Regions from separate parts of the Homo sapiens genome. Here region 1 is linked to region 2. The links are contacts of gene promoters, found by promoter capture Hi-C in blood cells and fetal thymus (Javierre and others, 2016). All regions are on one chromosome and are shown on one strand. Each heading gives the region's core, a stretch centred on a gene start or on the middle of the fragment in contact. The rest is flanking DNA. Distances are from core to core; before and after follow the strand shown. Region 1 holds the start of PLEKHM3 (pleckstrin homology domain containing M3). Region 2 holds the start of ZDBF2 (zinc finger DBF-type containing 2).

The links. Contacts are between HindIII fragments. The CHiCAGO score rates a contact against its expected background, and 5 or more counts as called.
Region 1: a contact is called between a fragment that was not itself captured here and the fragment with the promoter of ZDBF2 in region 2, in 1 of 17 cell types (total CD4 T cells). The highest score is 5.3, in total CD4 T cells.

The regions. Positions count from the first base shown.
Region 1 is chr2:208,025,342-208,029,224 of GRCh38, forward strand. PLEKHM3 (pleckstrin homology domain containing M3) reads right to left here and starts at 186. Exons shown (of 8, transcript NM_001080475.3): 1 at 48-186. The HindIII fragment of the contact is 609 bases long and covers 1,192-1,800 here.
Region 2 is chr2:206,272,813-206,276,802 of GRCh38, forward strand. It overlaps ZDBF2 (zinc finger DBF-type containing 2), which reads left to right and starts at 1,851. Exons shown (of 5, transcript NM_020923.3): 1 at 1,851-2,134. RefSeq lists silencers at 1,746-1,805, 2,086-2,545 and an enhancer at 2,209-2,708. The HindIII fragment of the contact is 6,855 bases long and covers 1,072-3,990 here.

The DNA of each region.
Region 1 (3,883 bases), core at 246-2,745, 1.8 Mb after region 2:
CCCCCAAACTGGCCGGCCAGGCAGCACAGAAGCAGACGGATGCTCACCTGGGCCCCGGCTGCTACTCTCCATTCACCTGCGGGGCCTTCAGTCCGCTCCTGGAGGGGCTTGACTCCCGCAGCCTGCCGCCCGCCTCACGGTGACAGCCCGCCCGGGCGCTGACCATCCCGGCCCGGCTCTGTTTACAAGCGGCTTCTCGCGGTCCCACTCTGAAATGCTTCCGCCGGCGGCCCGGGCAGCCAGAGCCGGACACACAAGGTTCCAGGCCGCGAGGACGAGTCTTTCCTGCCCGAGGGACCCGGCAGCTAGGCAAGGCCTGACCGCACCCGCCAGGCCTCCTTATTTCTTTGCTTTCTTATATACAGTTCCTCTTGTACACATTGTGAAAGCAATGGCGTGTGTCGTGGAGTCTCCTCACTGCTCCACCCAACGCCAAAATGGGTGTTTGCGATTGGAAAATGTCACTTAGAACATGTCAGGATCGGGCTGGTTTTTAGCAGCTCCCTTGTCTAAGGGAATTAATTACTCAAATAAGTTCTTTCCAAAAGTGGGACTATTCTGGAGATTGCTTCTCATTTCCGGTTTTGGGGCTGCAGTGAAAATCCGTTTTCACTGTCCTTTCCTACGCAGGTTGAAAAGGGGTGGTTTTGAGGTGAGGTCTTCACCCCCACTTGCGGATTCCCAGCAAAATAGGGTGTGCGTGTGTGTGCACGCGGGCAGGACTGCCTGGTAAGACCGCCCACATCCCACCTGCAGTGACTGTGGTCGCTTTGCAGGGATATGCTGGTCTGATTGGACAGACCTTCCTTGCAGTTTCCTGTCTGTTTTCCATCATAGCACACTTCTTAGCCATTTTCTCACTTTATAAGTACACACTTATTTATCAGTTTTATTGGTTTTCCCACGCTCACCCATCTCACCTATAAACTCCCTGAGGGCAGGCACTATTTCAGTTTCACTCACCACCATCTAGTAGGCACCTAGCACAGGCCCAATGTATATATATCTGAATAAATGAATGAACAAAGGAATGATAAAAAAAAAAAAAGGTCAAAGGGGTCAGGGATGAAACAGAAATCTAAAACTCTGATTCCTCTTCCCACCTTCCCACCCTCCAGAAGATTAATAAGCAAATCTTTAAGCTTTGAGTTAAGAAAAAATTTCCTTTGGTTGATATTCAAAGTTTAAATAAGCTTTCTTTAAACCCTGCAATTTGAGGTACTTTTTTTTCTGTTTTGCTAGAGACAGGATCTCACTCTGTGCCCCGGCCAGAGTGCAGTCGCACGATCATAGCTCACTGCAGCCCTGAACTCCTGGGTTCAAGGGATCCCCCCAACTCAGCCTCCTGAGTAGCTAGGACTACAGGCACGCATCACCACAACGTGGCTAACTTCTTTTTTCTTTCTTTCTCTTTTTTTTTTTTTTGTAAAGGCAAGGTCTCCCTGTGTTGCCCAGGATGATCCTGAACTCCTGGCCTCAGGCAATCCTTCTTCCTTGCCTTCCAAAGTGCTGGGATTACAGGTGTGAGCCACCTCACCTGGCCAGAGGTACATTTTTTGTTTTGTTTTGTTTTAATTACCAAAAGAGAATATTTGCAGTATTCTCTTTTGCCTCAGGACTTTGTACATGTGATTCCCTCTGATGAGAGTTCTCACTCCTGGCCCATCCTCTTACTTAGGCTGGCTAATTTCTCTTTGCTCTTTAAGAAGCAGGTAACAGGTGCTTGGTCTCTCAAGTCACTTGCTTGGTCTTCTTCCAAGTGTTCTTTTCTTCTTTTCCTTCCCTTCATTACTACTCTAAAGCTTTTTAATAAACTTTCACTCTAAAAAAAAAAAAAAAAAAGGCCGGGTGTGGTAGCTCGTGCCTGTAATCCACGCACTTAGGGAGGCCAAGGCGGGTGGATCGCTGGAGGCCAGCGGTTCGAGACCAGACTGACCAACATGATAAAACCTCATCTCTACTAAAAATACAAAAATTAGCAGAGCATGGCGGTGCACGCCTGTAATCCCAGCACTTTGGGAGGTCGAGGCGGGTGGATTGATTGAGGCCAGCAGTTCGAGACCAGCCTGGGCAACATAGTGAAACCCTGTCTCTACTAAAACGAAAATTAGCCAGGCATGGTGGCACACGACCTGTAATCCCAGCTACTTAGGAGGCTGAGGCACTAGAATCGTTTGGACTCAGGAGACGCAGGTTGCAGTGAGCTGATATTGAGCCAGTGCACTCCAGCCTGTGCAAAAGAGCGAGACGCTGTCTCAAAAAAAAAAAAAAAGCAGATGACATCACACCTCTTCTGGAAACCTTGCCTGATAGGGGAACCTGCTCCTTTTATGCACTCCTAGAGGATCTCATGTGTTCCTTTATAAATGTACCCATTACATTGTGCTACACAGATCAGTCTTCCATTGGATTGGTGGTTCTCAAAATTCACATGGAACAGAATCTTCTAGGATGGTGTTTCTCAAACTTTAACGGGTAAGAATTCTGTCAAAATGCAGAATCTGATACAGTAAGTCTGGGATGGGGCCTCTCCAACAGTCATGATCTCCTAAGTGATGCTGCATTTTGAGTGTCAAGGTTCTTGAATGCTGTTAAAAATGCAGATTCCTAGGCCGGGTGTGGTGGCTCATGCCTGTAATCCCAGTACTTTGGGAGGCTGAGGCGGCCGGATCACCTGAGGTCAGGAGTTTGAGACCAGCCTGGCCAACATGGCGAAACACTGTCTCTACGAAAAATACAAAAAATTACCCGGATGTGGTGGCTGGTGCCTGTAGTCCAAGCTACTTGGGAGGCTGAGGCAGGAGAATTGCTTGAACCCAGGAGGCAAAGGTTGCAGTGAGCCGAGATCATGCCATTGCACTCCAGCCTGGGCGACAGAGTGAGACTCCATCTCAAAAAAAAAAACAAAAACAAAAACAAAAAACAAAAAAACCCCCGCAGATTCCTGGATCACACATTCACAGATTTTTATTCTGAAGATCTACCTACATTAGGGTCCTGAATTCCATAATTTCTACAAGGTCCTCAGTGCTTCCCAAGTTGGTGATCCATGGACCATCCTTTGAGAAAAACTCTTTCAGACTAGTCTTGAAGTCTGATGTCAGGAGTTTGTGATTTGTCATTGTTTTTCATGGATTAAGCATGAAGTCTGGGACATAAAATGCATTTAAAAAACTGCTTTTGGCCTGGCACAGTGGCTTACGCCTGAAATTCCAGCACTTTGGGAGGCCAAGGCAGGCGGATCCCTTGAGGACAGGAGTTCAAGACCAGCCTGGCCAACATGACAAAACTCTGTCTCTACTAAAAAATACAAAAATTAGCCGGGTGTCATGGCACACATCTGTAATCCCAGCTACTCGGAGGCTGAGGCAGAGAATCACTTGAACCTGGGAGGCGGAGGCTGCAGTGAGCTGAGATCATGCCACTGCACTCCAGCCTGGGAGATAGAGCAAGACTCCATCTCAAAAAAAAAAAAAAAACAAAAAAAGCTGTGTTTGCAAAATGACTGATTTTATTCACTCTCACTAATACAGATCCTCAGCACCAGAATTAAGGGGATGATCCCAGAAAAAGGCTGAAAGATTTAGGGCTGAGAATAATCTCAGCTAGGCAGCCACTGGCTCATGGACCTCTGTATGTCAGCTAGGAGCTCTATATGTCAGCTAGGCCTCTGTATGTCAGCTAGGAACATTTTGCCTCTCTAAATGTAAAATATTTAAGTTCATATCTCCATTCAAAAGGTTGTCTGCTAAAAGCAGCTCCATCATCTTCTTTTGCCTTTTTTTTCTTTTTTTGAGATGGAGTCTGGCTCTGTTGCCCAGGCTGGAGTACAGTGGCGCAATCTCGGCTCACTGCAACCTCCGCCTCCTGGGTTCAAGTGATT
Region 2 (3,990 bases), core at 601-3,100:
GAGGGAGAGAAAGGAAGGAAGAATGCTGCACTATTGTATGCAGGATTTTCTTCCAAGCAGCTGATCTTATTCTGCAAGTTTTGATGCTGGCACCTTCTTGATCTCACCTGAATATGTCAATTTTGTGTTTTCACGCAAAACATTCAGGACTTGTTTTCCTCCTTCAATGGTGTTATTGAATAAAAGCTGTAGGGGTTGTAACTGACTAATCAGGCTATCAAGAATAATATCGAAGTTATTTCATTTTTGGGGGGTGCAAGTAGGCTTAGTATTTAACTGTTCATATATGGGTTCCCAAAATCCATCAAGAATGAATGTACTTGGTAAGTAACTCAGGGCTCCCAGAAGACTACTAGTTCTTAGCCAGTCCCATCTCTTTCTTTTCTAAATGCTGGGGAAATCTCTTTTTGGTCCTAGGAAAATCTTCTCCAGGCAAATCTTCCCTCTTTCCCTAGGAAAATCTCTCTCCAAGTTTGAGTGACTTTTGTCTGTTAATTCCCTTCCTCCTAGGGTTATGGGTTTTATTAAACAATGCACTTATCTCAGTTGAAATGAGGACAACCTGCACAGCAACATCCACGTTGTAATACGTGGAGGTAATGACAACCAGGTCTGTACTGCCACCCGGTCAACGAGAGTTTATAAGATGCATCTTGATTTCACAGATGTTAAAATGTGGGGAAAAACATGGCTTAGCATCTGTGAAATACATAATGTCATGGTGCTTCGATCAATGTATAGTGGATTTTCTATAATTCCAAAGTTGGGATGTGGAAAAAACTTGCCTTAAAAGAAATCCGTACTTTTTGGTATGTTAAATCTAAGGGAGGTTATAAATCGAACAGTTGCAGGAGCCCAACTTTAAAGTGAGAGAAAGATGTAGTGGGGGAAGAAGGAGCTGAGAAATACAGAAAGAATAAAAACAATGGACGCAAAAGCAATAGGCAAGTTTTTTTGTTGTTGTTCTTTAAAGGGACAAAATCACAAGCTTACTAAAAAGGGTAACGACAATTACAGCTACAGCCAAAGAGCAAAGTAGCTCATTTTAAGATTATTTTTACATTAGACATAAGCTTTGCAACAGGGCCTCTCTCCATTTTAGTAAAATTGGTTTAGGTGTTTCAGAACCTTCTTATCGCAGATTATAATTTCATATTCAGTAGTGTGATTCATTTAGGTTTGTGATCTCCGTTACACTTAAACTGTTTTTGCTCACAACTATATTCGTAATGGGGTAGCGCAGTGAATATAATTGCATGACCTAATGTTGTTTGTTAATATTTGTAACCCTTTAATGTGCAGGATAGATCTTTGAATACCTAACTTCCTTAAGCCTCAGTTTTCTCAATTTGTCAAAGGGGGACAATAATAGGATTCATTCAGAGTTACTCTGAAATGAAATGCAATAATGTATAGAAACCTTAAACGGTGCCTAGCACAGAGCAAGCGCTCATTGAACAGCAGCTTTTGTGAGATGCACCTCACTATGAAATAGGCATGGAAACGGAAACGACTAGCTCTCTTAGCCCCGTTTTCTTTTCTACATTCATACGTTGCTTTGAATTGGCAAGCAGTTTTTATTTGGACCCTCAAACGCTAAAACCTTGGTCTCTACTTCGCGTCCCAACTGTGCTTATGAGTCTAGTCATTTTTGTTGGAACGCGATAGATTTCCCAAGCTCCGGAGTGGGGCCCTGACCAGGGAGGAAGTGTCCGCTTTAAGAGCTTCTGGAGGGGAGGAAGGGGCTCCTCCGCCCGGGTGGGAGAGTGAGTGAGTGGGTGGGCGGGCAGGGGGCGGTCCCGCCGCTCCTGCGTCAGAAGGGGTCTGGTTTTCGCACCTTCCCTGACGTCAAACCTCCATCAGGGTTGCAACGCCACGTTGCCTTGGATGCCTGCGTGAGTGGAGTCGCGACTCGGGGCCCGCGTCCTGAGAGACGCGCTCCCGCGCCGCTTCTCGCCTCCGGACCGCAGGGGCCGAAGTCGCCTATTTCTGGCTCCGCGGGCAGCGGGGCCGTGGCGCTCGGACGGTCTGGGATTCGGGCGCCGCCGCGGAACCGGAATAAGAAGGGAGAGCGCCCGGCTCGGTCCTCGGTCTCCACCGCGGCCCGGAAGGAATCCGGGCAGCCTCCGCGGAGGTGAGTGCCGCGGCGGGGGCGGGGCGCGGCCGGGGCGACGCCCGCGGGCGGGGCCTGCTCGCCGGGCGCCCGGGGCGCCTTCTTCCCGAGGGACGCCAGGACCGCTCGCTGGGCTCCCGCGGCCGCCTCGCAGGTCCTCGGCTTCCCCCCACCCCGCGTCCCTTTCTGCCCCTGCTGCGTGAGAGGTGTCGGCGGCTCCGGGCCGGGATCGAGGTGGCGGGGCGAGGGAAGGAGGTGGGGCGCAGGCTGCATTGCGCTTCTGTCCGGGGCCCTGGGTCAGAGGGGCCGGCGGACGAGGCCTCGGGTCCGGGCTTGGGGAGGGGGCGGTCTGCGGGGTCGGATTGAGGGCCGGGAACCCGCGGAGTCTTGCCCCTGGGCACCTGTGGGGCCGAGATCCCGAGCCACCTGTCCACACACCCCCTTCCCCCAGTGCCCTGCGTTGGGTCCAGCTGGCCCCAGACCTAGGCCTTTCCCAGCCTCGGGCGATTATAGTTTATTTGAAAACGTTTGATTTTTGTGTTAATGATTCTTTTACTACCGCCGTGCAACAGTTGTGTAAATGTGGTCGTGTTACGCCATCGTTTTTACTTGCTCCTAAGAAGGGCCTTACCAGCTCCTGCGATTATCTCACGCGATGATTCTTGGTAGCTCGTGAAAAAAATGCATAACAAGATACTGGTTCTCAAGGGACCAAAACCCCACCCCCACCTAAAGGAAATAGCTTGTTTTTGTTTTTCTTTTTTACAGCAATATGCTACGTGTGGGGAGGGGGAGGGACGATGGAGGCAGCCTGTAGCGATCTCATCCTCGAGAGAATCTGCTAACAATTTGGGGGGTATCTTTCCTTCCTTTTTAATTAATACACAAACATATATACGTGTGTTACATAAGGGGTGTTTATTTGCTTTTTTCACTTAATACGTGGAAGACCTTTTCTCTATCGTTTGAACCTAAAGCCTAGAAGGCAAGAAAGCAACTCGTTAGAGAGTTGATAAAGTATCACTGCAGTGGCCAGTGATTTGGATAGAAATAAGCTGAATTCAGGGTAAGAACTGGTTTCTATAAAATATGGTTTACTCTGCATAATAATTGGAGGCAGTGTTTTTTCAAACTGAGTTTTTTCAGCCGGTTCGTGAATGGTGAAATTAATTTAGTCATGACTAGCATTTAAAAAAAAATAAGATCGCATAAAAAAATCAGAATGCATTATATGTAATGAGAGTATTGTTTTGTGAAAAATATTTTAACTGTGCGCGTGTGCATTGTGAAATTTAGTGGGTCGTGACTAGCATTAAAAAAAGTAAGATCGCATAGAAAATATCAGACTGCATTACATGTAATGAGAGTATTGTTTTGTGAAAAATCTTTTAAGTGTGCGTATGTGCCTGTGCGTGTGTGCTCGGTTGTAATTAAAAATTTATTGGTTCCTGTGTGTCATGTTAAATAATCTTGAGAGTCGCTAATCCAAGGTACTGTCAGCACTCAAATGAGCAAGATGCAATTAAACTAGACATTAGTTTTATTTTTTCTTTGGAATAGTGGTGATGTTGATTGCAGCAAATAAGAGTCCTAATTATTTGTTTTCACCTAATATTAAAACAAGTAGTATTCCTAAAAATACAGAGAGGAAGTGTCTAAGTCGTTAAGAGGTTAAAGCATAAACTACTCAAATTGACCAGTGATCACATCTCAGTTACGCTGGTTATTGGTGTGAGACCTGCAACAAGATACCTCTTTTCTCTCAACCTCAGTTCCCTGATTTGTTAAATGGGAATTAATCATGGCAGCTACCTTATAAAGCTGTTTGTTATTTAGATGAGATAATGCACAGGAAGCTGTTGACAGAGCGCCTGGCT